Linked DNA regions of Homo sapiens: region 1 is linked to region 2. The links are contacts of gene promoters, found by promoter capture Hi-C in blood cells and fetal thymus (Javierre and others, 2016). All regions are on one chromosome and are shown on one strand. The core of a region is centred on a gene start or on the middle of the fragment in contact, and the rest is flanking DNA. Distances in the headings are between cores, read along the strand shown. Region 1 has its middle 23 kb from the start of CAPN9-AS1. Region 2 holds the start of TRIM67-AS1 (TRIM67 antisense RNA 1).

Region 1 (5,876 bases), core at 1,124-3,623, 370 kb after region 2:
TCCCATTGGCCGACACAAAGCAAATCCCAAGGCTGGTCCCAGAGTCAGAGGGGAGGCACTCCAAAGTGATAGGACAGGGACTATGGCACAGGCCAGGAGAAGGGTAGGGCCACATGCAATCAATCTGCCACAGATGGCACCAGGAGCACTCACTCCTCTATGACAGAGGTCTGTTCCTGCAGCTGCCTCATTCCACCTCCACCATGCTGCAGCTCCTAGTAGCAGGAACTGCATCAAACTCATGGCTGTGTCTCCAGCATTTAATTTATCACCGTGCCTGGCTCATAGGAGACCCTCAGTGGTAGTGGATTTAATTGAATGTTTCCTCTCATCTTAAACTCAGTCTCAAGGAGCTCATTATGCATTTTTTTAAAGCCTGCAGCATCCGGTATTCCCATGTGGTCTCCCACCCTAGTACTAACCAGGCCAGACCCTGCGTAGCTGACAAGATCAGGTGCATTCAAGGTGGTATGGCCGTAGACTGTGCTCCACTTTTAAACAGCTGTCTTTGTGCCTCTGTAATCAAATGCCTTGCCTCATTCCAGGGCCCATTTAGCCCCCAATAGACCAAGCTCATGGTCCCTGTGGTCAAGATGCTTGATGGAGCCATTTATAACAGCTGTTCTCCCCTGCAACCTTACCCGTCCATATCTGTACTTTTGAAAGCCACTGTTAACCTTTGGGCACATTCAAGCCATTCATCAGCATCTGAAGCCTCTCTGACTTTTCAGTAACAAGCAGGTATCTCTTCTTCAGAACATTCTCTTCCCAGCAGTATAGGACCATGGATAGAACTTGGCCTTCAGTCTCAGAGAGACCCAGGTTGCACCACCTTTCAGTGGTGTGGCTCTAGGCCAGGGTATCTGCTTCACTCCACTGCAGAGTTGGCTTCTCTCTGGGTCTTAGCTATCGGCCCTCTCCATCTCCTCTCTGTAGCCTTGAATCAAACTCCTTTTCTGAAGACCTAGAAGGTAACTGCACTTCTGGAAGCCTTTGGAGCCCAAGAAGAGGGAGGGTTTGGGTTGAGGGGATGTGTTTTTGTTTTAGAAGTAGTGGTGGGAAAAGCATGGACTTCAGATTCAAACAGGCCAGAGTTCAAATCTCTCTCTAGCCCATGCCAACAAAACTCTGGGCTGCGTGATACATCTCATAACGTCTCTGACATCTCCTTTATTTTACTATTATTATTATCATTTTTTTGGAGTTGCATGTTACTTTTTTATTACTATTTTTAAAAATTCTTCATTTTTCTATGTCCTAATGCCAGGCTTCTGTAAGGCTCTATACCTTTAGGTGTTCTCTTTTCACACTTGCTTTCTTATGAAAGCTTGGCTTTTAAATGACTTACCTGAATTGGCACCTTTTAAATTCAAATCACCACCTCCAAAATCTCACGAAGAATCCACTCCCACACTCTAATTTTCTGTCAGGATGTTTTTATGTTGATATTCCACAACGATCTCAAATCTCAAACTGAAATATACTCCTGGTCACAATGACCGATTTTGTTTTTGGTTTTGAGACAAGGTCTCACAATGTTGCCCAGGCTGGTCTTCAGCTCCTGGACTCACATGATCCTCCCAGCCTCCGGAGTAGCTGGGGTTACAGGCTTGTGCCACCACACCTGCCTCCAGTTTACTCACTTGTGTTAGTGGGACCGTTTTCTCTCTCTGTCCCATGGTCACATCAGCCATCTTTGCTTCATCCTTCCTTTTCATGGCTCCTACCATTCTTTCTCTTCTATCGGGCTTTAGGCTGGCCCACCACTGTTCCTCCAGAAGGTTGTATGGACATGAGTAAGTATTCCTCTCTCTGCGCCTGTTCTACCTTCTTTCAAAGACAACATTAGAATTCCTGAATTTATAAAGTGAGGAAATGAAGCACTGATTGGTTTTCATTTGTCTGGGCCACATGTTCCCGGGCACAATTAAGGGCAGTGTCTAGATACTTCAGACACGAGAAGAGGGTGAGAGAGGCAGTTTGAGAAACAAAATTCTCTGTGCTTCTCTTTCATCCTCTCTGAGAACCAAAAGTAGTATCAACCCCACACCCCTGGTGAATGCATGTGAGAAGCCTTGGCCTCTGACCTCTTCACATCCTCAGATGCAAAGGCATGAACAAGGATGGTGGGATTTCTTCCATGCCTGGCTGAGTTCTTTCCAAGAAGATGATCTCATTTGTCTTGGTGAAAGGCTTATTTTTAAAATGCACATTCCATTTTCCATTATTTAATAGGCACATAATGTCTTGCAGCTTCCTTCGAAGTGATTTCATGCATGGTGATTCCATGTGTTTCTCCAGTTCCTATATGCTCCTCAATGAATCTCTATATATTTCTTTCCACACTATGGTAATAAAAACACATTGGGCAGTGTGTGGCTGTGGTTTCATTTCAGAAAAACTTTAGTCTAGAACATCAATGCCCTGTGACTTAGGAGCAGGGGCTGAGAGGGAGACTGTATGGCAGATGATCCTGTACTGCCTCTTCCAAAAATAGTTAGACAGGGGAGACTCTGGGGTGTAAGCGTGTGTAGGGTGGGAGGGGCAGGAATAGAAAATAATGTTAAATAAACAAAAATCATGACATTTATTAAAGATGGCGAAGGAGGCCAGGCGCGGTGGTTCATGCCTGTAATCCCAGCACTTTGGGAGGCCGAGGCGGGCAGATCGCAAGGTGAAGAGATGGAGACCATCCTGCCCAACATGGTGAAACCCCGTCTTTCCTAAAAATACAAAAATTAGCTGGACATGGTGGCACGAACCTGTAATCCCAGCTACTTGGGAGGCTGAGGCAGGGGAATCACTTGAACCTGGGAGGAGGAGGTTGCAGTGAGCCGAGATTACGCCACTGCACTCCAGCTGGCGACAGAGCGAGACTCCATCTCAAAAAAAAAAAAAAAAAAAAAAAAAGAAAAAGAAAAAGAAAAAAAAGATGGTAAGGGAGACTTTATTCAGGATCATCGACATAGGTGTAAGGATCACAGCAGTGGTGTTCTGCAGCTGGGGAGAGAGACTGGGCTCAACTCTGAATACAACAAGGAAAAGTGAGAATTTATAGCCAAGGAGTAGAGTGGAGGGAGAGGTCACTGGATGGAAAATTAGTAAGAGGAAGCATTAGGGCTGAGGGGGATTCTGGCTAAACCAACCCAACAGGATTCTTGCTGAAGGCAGGCCAGGGTGATCAGACATCACCTGGCAAATGGTGGAAGACGAGGAACCTGATCAGATATCGATGGCGATCAGATATTGAGTGTGGACAATCTAGTTAAACTGACTTAGCAGGGTTCTTGCTAAAACTGGACAATGCAGACATGAACATGGAAGTCCGAAAGTTGTGTCCATTTAAAAATTTATGTTTGCAAGAGCTTCCAGAACCATGTTGTAAAAATCATAGACAAACATGAAACCGGGAAGCTTTCAAAACCCAGGATTCAGAGAACACTGACAACTCTTTGCAGGAGGTTGCAAATTCAACCTCAGAGATGTCTGGAAAAATATTCTACTCAAGCTTGGTCTTGATTTCCAAAGATCTACAAATCTAGTGAAGTTCTTGCTGAAGTGAAAATAGCCACCAGCCAACTGAAGCTAGAGGTTGAAGCAAAGGAAGTTTGAAGGCTGATGGCTCCTCAGTCTCAGAAACCACCCTGTGATGAGCACACCCACCAGTGATGAACACGCCCACCTTCATGAACAAAGGGAGGCGTGAGCTCTCTGGACAGTCCTGATCAAGGGGCCATGATAAGAAGTCAAAGGCATGAGAAAACAGTGATAGTGATTTTTAAGGAAATGGATTTCAATTTAAAAGTAATCAGAACAAAGTTACAGTTTTAGTTGTACAGAAAAATTGAACAGCAAGCAGAGACGGGTCTCATATATCCCATTTTCCCCCTCTCTTCCTCCACAGTTTCTCCTATCACTAACACACACACACTCATGCAAGCGCGCGCACACACACACACACACACACACACACATATTAACACTGATGTGGTATATTTATTGCAATTGATGAACCAATATTGACACATTACTATCAACTGAAATCCATCATTTACATTTGAGTTCACTCTTTGTGTTGTACAGTTCCAAAAGAACCTTCTGATTTTTGTGGAAAAATGCAGAAGTTAATTTAGAGAAAAAAAACTTTATAGTTAGAAAAAATGGCTAAGGTGATTGACTACTCATTAATCTGAATTACATATTCTTTAGAAAGATTTATTCTGTGCAGCGTGTAAGTATAAAATTTGCATTACCTCTGGTCTTTCCTATAAGAGTTGTATCAAGAATTTCATCATTACAATTAATTGCATGCATATATACTTTTCTATGGGAAATAACTTTTTACTAAAAACACATTACATGTTACCTCTAGACAACCTATAGTCATGGCACAAATTGCATCTTTGCTTTCTCAGATTCCAAAAGTCTTTGTGTAACCACTGTCCTCAGCAATTGTCACCATTACTTGGCCCAGTGCCATTGTGCAAGGGAAGGAAGGTTTTGTCTTGGCTCAGTGGTAGAAGGACTAACACACTCTCTTCCCACATGGAGACATACTAGAGAGGATATTCTGGCCTCCCTGCAGCCTCAAGTTCTCTCTTCCCTGGGTGAATAGCTACTCCACAGATCTGTATCTACATGGAGAGGTCATGCATGTGTTCTATGCACTTTCAGCACCACCTAGGTACAGAGTTTGTCAGTCTTAGGTGCTAACCTCTCAGCTCCACACTCACCCACATATACTCTGCACTGTAGCACTGAGGCTGGTTCTATGCAAAACCCATTTCTGTTTTATAGCTGCTCTTTGTGAGGCCATGACAGTAAGAGGCTTAAAAGGAGACTGAGAGGCTTGAGGAGGAAGAGGAGACTTGCTCCTTCTTGTCTGCCTTCTGTCCACTTACTGTTGCTATGAGCATCACCCTGAATTCTCCACCCCAGCAGCAGTAGAAACTTCCTATAGCTGCAGCAAAAGCCAGTTTGCAGTTTTTCTAACCCTTGTAGAGCCAGCCTAAAGGCACTCTCTTCAGAGCTGCCACATTGCCCTCAGGACTAACCCATTCTCCACAATCCAGATTTAAGCAGCACTTCGGAGGAGTTTGCCCAGTAATGTATACATCTGATTCTTTGTTCAGCATCTGGCTATTGCTATTTGTGCATTGACTCCACTGGTCAGAACCAAAGACAGCAGGAGAGGTAAGTGCAGCCAAATTCATCTAGCCTCACAGTGACCTTCCTATAATCCATACTGCCAAGTGAGGTATCTGCAAACTACAGATACTTTGCCAACTGGCTTACTGTTAGGTACCGTGAATAGGAGAGAGGGCCTGGGAGAAAATCAGAACACAGAAAGAAGAGAGAATCTTCTATTTCTGGTTTGACAGTGGGGTAGTTTCTGGCAGTTGTAACACCAGCAAGAACAGGGTAACACCTGAGCAAAAGTAAGATTGATCTAGACTCTTGGATCCTGGACAAAGGTAGTATCTTTTTGACAATTTCCAATCTCTGTGGCACCTTCAACCATGCAGCAGTACAAACTCAGGAGCACCACTCTCTTTTGTGTATGGAACAGACATGAATATTACAGGGGGGAGGGAGCCTGAGGGTGAACTGTGTAAGGCCTACTAATGGCCCCCTAAATTATTCATGCCCTAATCCCACTGTGAGTGCATTATGTTATCTGGAAAAAAGGGATTTTGATATGTAATTAAGGTTATAGACCTTAAAATAGGCAGATTTTCTGAATTTCTGAATTTTCCGGGTGAGTCCAGTTGTGGGGAAAATGAAAACTACTAAAATGCTGCTGTGGTCCCACCTAACAAAACTTAAAAGCAAGGCTCAAAAGGATCAAACTAATTTCAAATAACTGTGTCCCTGAA
Region 2 (6,422 bases), core at 2,578-5,077:
CCGCGGAGAGCGGCTTTGTTTTCTAGTCTTCTCTCAATGGCCAGGCCTAGGTTCCAAGAGCCCAGTAACCAGAATAAAGATAACTTCCAGGCTTGGCACGGTGGCTCACGCCTGTAAACCCAACACTCTGGGAGGCCAAGGCGGGAGGATCACTTGAGCCCAGGAGTTCTAGACTAGCCTAAGCAACACAGCAAGACCCCTGTCACTACAAAAAATACAAAAATTAGCTGAGTGTGGTGGTATACACCTGTAGTCCCAGCTACTCAGGAGGCTGAGGTGGAAGGATTGCTTGAGCTCAGAAGTTTGAGGCTGCACTGAGCTTTGATTGTACCACTGCACTCCAGCCTGGGTGACAGAGTGAAAACTTGTCTCTTAAAAAAATGATGATGAATAAATATAACTTCCCTAGCGTCCAGCCTAAACTGAGGCTCAGAAATATGGTGGGGAGCCTTGATCACCCTGTGATTGAGGCAGATGCAGCAACAGGCCTGGAGACTGGAAACAAGGTGTGACCCATGGAGTCACTGGAGGTGACTCACAGGGATGAGAGAGGGAGGAGGTGAGCACGTGGAGACCCTGGAAGTGGGGAAAGAATAGGACAAAGGAGGGTCCTGAGAGGGAGACTTGGGCAGACCCTTCTCCCATGAAATAGTGGCAGCCAGACCTCCCGGATTCCCCAACCCCACCGGCTTCCCCGCTCCCAGTCCGCTCCCAGGATCCAGTCCCCCGCCCTGAGGATCCAGGCCACAGAGACTTTGCTCCATGCAGCATGAGGGATTGATGGTAAGGGCACAGGGGAGAGGGACGCCCCTGGGTAGATGTCCACTTAGGGAGGAGCCAGCTCAGCATTGGCTACGAAGGGAGCAATGCTGGGTGGCAGCCCCTGGTATGTTACGCCGGGGGCCGCAGGCTGAAGGTGACCCCCCAGAAACAGAAGGGGTCATTGGTAGAAGAACTAGGAGCCAGGGGTTGATCCAGGCAGCCTCTCTCTGCAGTGGCTGTGGCCCAGAGCTGGGGGGAGATCCCCTGAGGCAAAGCAGCTCAGAAGATCAGCTCCTGTCCCTGCAGCTCCCTGTGTTTGTGTCGCTAAGCCAGTAAGGAGGAGAGCTGGGACTGGAATGGGGCTCTCCAGATGCTGATCCAATGTTCTGTTCAGTGCTTCAAGCCACATCCAATTCTCAGAACCCCTACATGGAGCCTGCTGCCACGACTCTGTCAACACAGACTAGATCTCTTTGAAGGCGCCACCACTGCCTTCATCTAGGGCTGTTGCAAAAGAAGAGAACTCTCTGGGAGGATCTGCCTTTCCCTGAATCCCCAGGCTCACTCTGTCATGGGTTCCTATGGGACATTAGTTTCTTATTGCTGCTGTGACAAGTTGCCATAAGCCTCGTAGCCTAGATCAACACAAATTTATCATTTTATGGTTCTAGAGGTCAGAAGTCCAAAATGTGTCTTACAAGCCTAAAATCAAGGTATGGGCAGGGCTGGTTCCTTCTGGAGGCTCTAAGGGAGAATCCTCTTCTGTGCCTTTTCTGGCTTCTAGAGGTCACCCACATTCCTTGGCTTGCGGCCCCTTCCTGGCATCGTTCAACTTCATGTGCTATGGTCTGAATGCTTGCATCTCCCCCAGATTCATATGTTGAATCCTAACCCCAGGAGAGGTGGTATCAGCAGTGGGGACTTTGGGAGGTGGTGAGGTCATGAGGGTGGAGCCCTCATGAAGGGGATTAGAACCCTTATAAAACAGGCCCCAGAGTGAGGCCCCAGAGTGAGAAGATGCCATCTATGAATCAAGAAAACGTCCTGCCAGGCACCAAATCTGCTAGGCACTGATCTTGGACTTCCTAGCCTCCAGAACTGTGAGAAGTACATTCCTTTTGTTTATCAACCCCCCTGTCTATGGTATTTTGTTATAGCATCCTGAAGACTAAGACATCTTGCTTCCATCCTCATCTCCTATGACTAACTCTGATCCTCCTATCTCCCTCTTACAAGAACCTTTCTGGTGACATTGGACCCACAATGATTGTGAGGTTAAAGCAGGATAATCTCCCCATCTCAAGATGCTTAACTTCATCACATTTATCACATTTGCAAAGCTCTTTCGCCATGTAAGGTAACATTCACCTTACATGGGTTCCAGGAATAAAGATATGGATGTCGTCCTTGGAGGCCATCATTGAGCCTGCTATGACTGGCAATTAAATTTATCATTTTTAAAAACCTCATTTCACATGTGGCCACAGAACTGTTCAATGTCTGCTGCTCAGAGGACTGTGCACTCAATGAAGTCACGTTGGATTTATCCAGTGTCGCATCCCCAGCTCAGAGCCCGGAGGCTAGTACACAGGACCCACTATAAATGGTGCCTGATTGAGGGTCTGTTTCTACCTGGATCGTCAGCTTTGTACTGGGCCCATGAGGCAGTTCTCAGGACAAGATCCATCACAGAACCAACATCCACCAGACACAGATCCACCCGCTGAGGCCAGAAAAGTGGATCTTGTGGAGAACAATGTCATTTTTGTGCCACAGGACAAAGGTCTGACTGCCCGAACCCAGTCACAACCTGGACTTGATGGCCTCTCCTCTCCTGAGGTGGGACAGGATCAGTAGCAACTGGTGACTTCCCATTAATAGCAATAAGAATAACAACCGACAGCTTGCTAAGTGCTGAGCTCTTTACATGCCGAATTTATCTGATTCCTCATAACCTAGCAAGGAGGTGCCATATTAACACCATTTTACAGAAGGGAGCATGGGCTCGAGAGGGGAAGTAATTTGCTCAAAGTCACACAGCTAGTAAGTAGTGTGGCCAGGACTCAAACCCAGATTTTTCTGAATCCAAAGTCGATGCTCTTTGCACTCCATTGCACTGCACTTTGGATGTTCAACCAACGTGGAAGGAGGACAAAACCTAATTTCCCATTAAAATCCCTCGGAGGCAGGGCTGCTGGGCTGAGACCACCCACCATCTTCCAGCTGCATCTTTATTCTCCAGGGGACCCTTGTCCCTGGCATTCTGTGTGCTTGGGCAGGGTTGCCTGTCTGCCAATGATGGTTTCATCAGACCCAAGCTCCACTCTCCAGCTCATTAGGATTTCAAATGTGCAGCTGTGTAGGAAGCCTCCACAGCCACTTTGCGAATGTTGATAAAGCAACGTTGCCATCAGTCTGGGCTTTGTCCCTGCACTGCAGGGGACACATGTGGGAGGATGACACTGACCACCACCTCCTCCTGCTCCTGTCCCACACAGAGCAAGGTGTCTGGGGGAGGCAGAAGCAACCAAGACTGCCTTGAATAGCAATATGGTGCCATGTAACACGGGTCCCAGTGTGATGGAGGGGTGGAAGGGATTATGTGGACACAGTCATAGATCACGCTCTCACAAAGATGTCTCTGTGAGAGTGGGAGAGCATGGGAAGCAAAAATGGATTGGCAGGGCAGGGAAGTGCAGGCAGCTCTCCTCTGGGAGAGAACACGAAAGAACAGGACTTGCTTTTCTCTAGGAAGGGAGATCCCATAGATTCACTCCTGTCACTTCCCATCAGCCAAGCTTTCATCTTAGGCGTCTGGAGTGCTGAGCTACTTTCTTGTTCCCACAGCCTAACCAAGCATCTGCCTGCCTGGGTCTCTCTCCAGAAGCACTACAGCAGCTCCTTTGTGCCTGGCGTGGATCAGAGAGAGCTTGCCCGCTGTCCCTCTGGCTACCCAGCCACGTGGCTTCCTTCTGCCCGCCTTTCCCACCCCGCCTCTCCCACTCCGCCTCCTGCAGTTTGATGCCCCACTTGGGAGACAGTAGAGATGGGGCGTGTATTAAAACAGGAATCGAAGCTTCACTGAGAGTTTCACACCATCATTGGGCACAAAGGAGGTTGTGAAATGGACCACAGGGGATTTCTCTCACCTTTTTATCTGCCCCTCAGTGCTAAGGTATTGTTTTTTTTTTTTAACCTGTGGCTGATAATAATGCCTAATAAGTTAAAAATGCCCTCATCTGTTGGCAGAACAGTAGAAATAAATGAGAAATGTAAATGACTCATTTTTTAAAAAAATTAAAAGGTAGAGGCTCCTGGGTAAGCAGAGAAATTGACTTCTAAGCACCACCTGAGGGAGGCACGGATACCACTGAGGCACACTCCTCCGCCAGGCAGATGATCTCCTTCTCCTTTTATCCCGAAATCCTACTCCCCACTTGGGGAGCCTGGGGCCAACAGAGGCAGGTCTTTTCCCTGCATCTTCTTTCTTGCCCCTTGTTGCTTAAATGTGGCTATTTTCCTTCATCTTCTTAAACGCTGTCTTCCCAGGTGAAATATAAAGAGGGATCCAACAACACAGCTACGACTTCCTGGTCACACCATTGCCTGGGAAGCTTTCAGCTTTCTGTTTTTAGACTTAGATTGATCTCCTGGTCGAGATCCATATGCTTGTGAGATGGGCATCCTCATTAGCCTTGCTGATGAGGCAGCCGTGGATGTCGTGGGATGTGCGGGTAAAGCAGTCCCCTTCCTCTAGCAGGAAGATGAAAGCTGCCCAGACAGCCTGAGAAGCACCTTCCCATCATCCAAGCTTTCATTTTAGGCCTCTGGGGTGCTGGGCTGGGGAAGGCTGCCTGGCATTTTCAAATGGTTGGAGATACTGCTCAATGCAAGCCTGTATCCTGGACCAGCCTCAGGGGAAGGGCGACGGACTGAATTGTGTCCCCCAAAATTTAGACATTGAAGTCCTAACCCCCAGCACCTCAGAATGTGACTGTACTTGAAGAGATGATTCAGTTAGAATGAGGTCATTAGGGTGGGCCCTAATCCAGCAGGACTGGTGTCCTTATGAAGAGGGGAGATTTGGACATAGAGACAGACAGGTGCTAGGGAAAGCACCACGTGAAGATTGGAGTTATGCTGCCAAGGATCTACAAGGAGCTGGGAGAGAGGCCGGAGCAGGTCCTTCCCAGAGCCCTCAGGGGCAGCATAGCCCTGCCGACACCCTGATTTCAGTCTTCTGGCTTCCAGAACAGTGAGACGATATATTTCTGTGGTTCTAAGCCACCCAGTTTGTGGTACTTTGCTCTGGCAACCCTAGCAAAGAATACAGAGGGACTAAAAGGAGGTCCACGGATGCGCTGCTGAAACCAGGAATCCAGGTCAGGCCCGATTTGTCCTGTTCCAACTAGAGATGTGCTCCTCCTTCAGGAAGAAATCCTGCTTTTGCCAGAATGTACTCTTGTCTCTCCTTCTGGCCCTTTGGGCTCAAGAGTTCCACTGCTGTGATTCATGCAGAACAAAGAGGGAGCGCCTCAGCCTGGCTGTCAAGCCCTTCATCCATTCACCGATGTATTCATTCAGCAAGCGACTGCCAGCCGCCTATCAGGAGAGAGGTGAGTTCTGCTCACGGGGAACATCCCCTTCTTTTTCCCTGGGAAAATCTGCAACCCAAGCACCTATCTTCCAGAAGACCCACCTCCTTCTCGTCTCCTCTAGTTATGAGCCCTTGTCCCGGCTGTCACGGCCGTTTATCACACTCATCTCCAGTCCTAGCTCAGCTTGCCCACGTCCAACTCAAATCCTCCTTTTCCACGAAGTCTTCCCCCCAGACTCCATGAACTTTGTGGTTCATCTCTGTTCTGCCATCACCTCTCGCTTACCTCCGACTGTGGCCCTCGCCATCATCTGTCTGAGGTCTTAGTTACTTATCTACTTGACCGTGTCCCTCACTAGATCAGGACTTCCAGAGTGAGCCGTTCAATCATCTTTGTGTCCCTAGTACAGAGCCTGTGCAGAACGGGCACTCAACAGTGTCTTCTGAATTCACTGATTTCGTGCTGTGTGCTCTGGGGAGCTGCAAAAGGGCAGGACGCGTCTGGGCTCCCCTAGGCAAAGGTCCCAGTGCTGCAGCCCAAGGCATCCTCTGTGTCTCCTACTAGGGATCCCACTTCTCACTCTCGATGTGGCCTCCCCTCGCTGCCTGTTCATCCCGGCTCACTCCCTGGTCCTGCACTGGGGGCTGGAACACAGACTTCCTGGGGGTCCCGCCGTGGTGGGAGCTCCTGGGTTCCACTTGTTTGGGTTGTTTTAGATTCTTCCCCACTTCAGATGAGGAAAACAAGAGCCATTCTCCCTTCTGACTTTCCTTCCTTTTCTTTTCTCAGATCCCTCCAGTGTAGGAGGGTGGGAGGGAGAGCTGGTCCAGGGGTGAGGGGAGACTCCTTTCTCACAGGGAGTTTTCAGATAAAGGCTCTGGGAATCCTGAGAAGGGTGGAAGGTGCAGGAATGGACGCCGTGGAGTACAGGCTGGCTGGCTGGACAACACACACTTCCCATTGAGCCAGCAACTCGGATTTAGGAGCCAGCAGATGGTGACCGAAGTGCCCTGCTCTCTGGAAGTCCAGGCACCAGCTCAGCTCCACACTAGCCTAGGCCCT

Evidence for each region. Contacts are between HindIII fragments. The CHiCAGO score rates a contact against its expected background, and 5 or more counts as called.
Region 1: a contact is called between a fragment that was not itself captured here and the fragment with the promoter of TRIM67-AS1 in region 2, in 1 of 17 cell types (erythroblasts). The highest score is 5.2, in erythroblasts.

The regions. Positions count from the first base shown.
Region 1 is chr1:230,814,856-230,820,731 of GRCh38, reverse strand. It overlaps the pseudogene RNA5SP79. Among named protein-coding and RNA genes, the nearest start is that of CAPN9-AS1, 23 kb to the right of the region's middle. The HindIII fragment of the contact is 2,087 bases long and covers 1,330-3,416 here.
Region 2 is chr1:231,185,032-231,191,453 of GRCh38, reverse strand. TRIM67-AS1 (TRIM67 antisense RNA 1) reads left to right here and starts at 3,827. Exons shown (of 3, transcript NR_166514.1): 1 at 3,827-3,937; 2 at 5,281-5,378; 3 at 6,218-6,422. The region is part of intron 1 of TRIM67 (tripartite motif containing 67); the gene reads right to left. The HindIII fragment of the contact is 278 bases long and covers 3,563-3,840 here.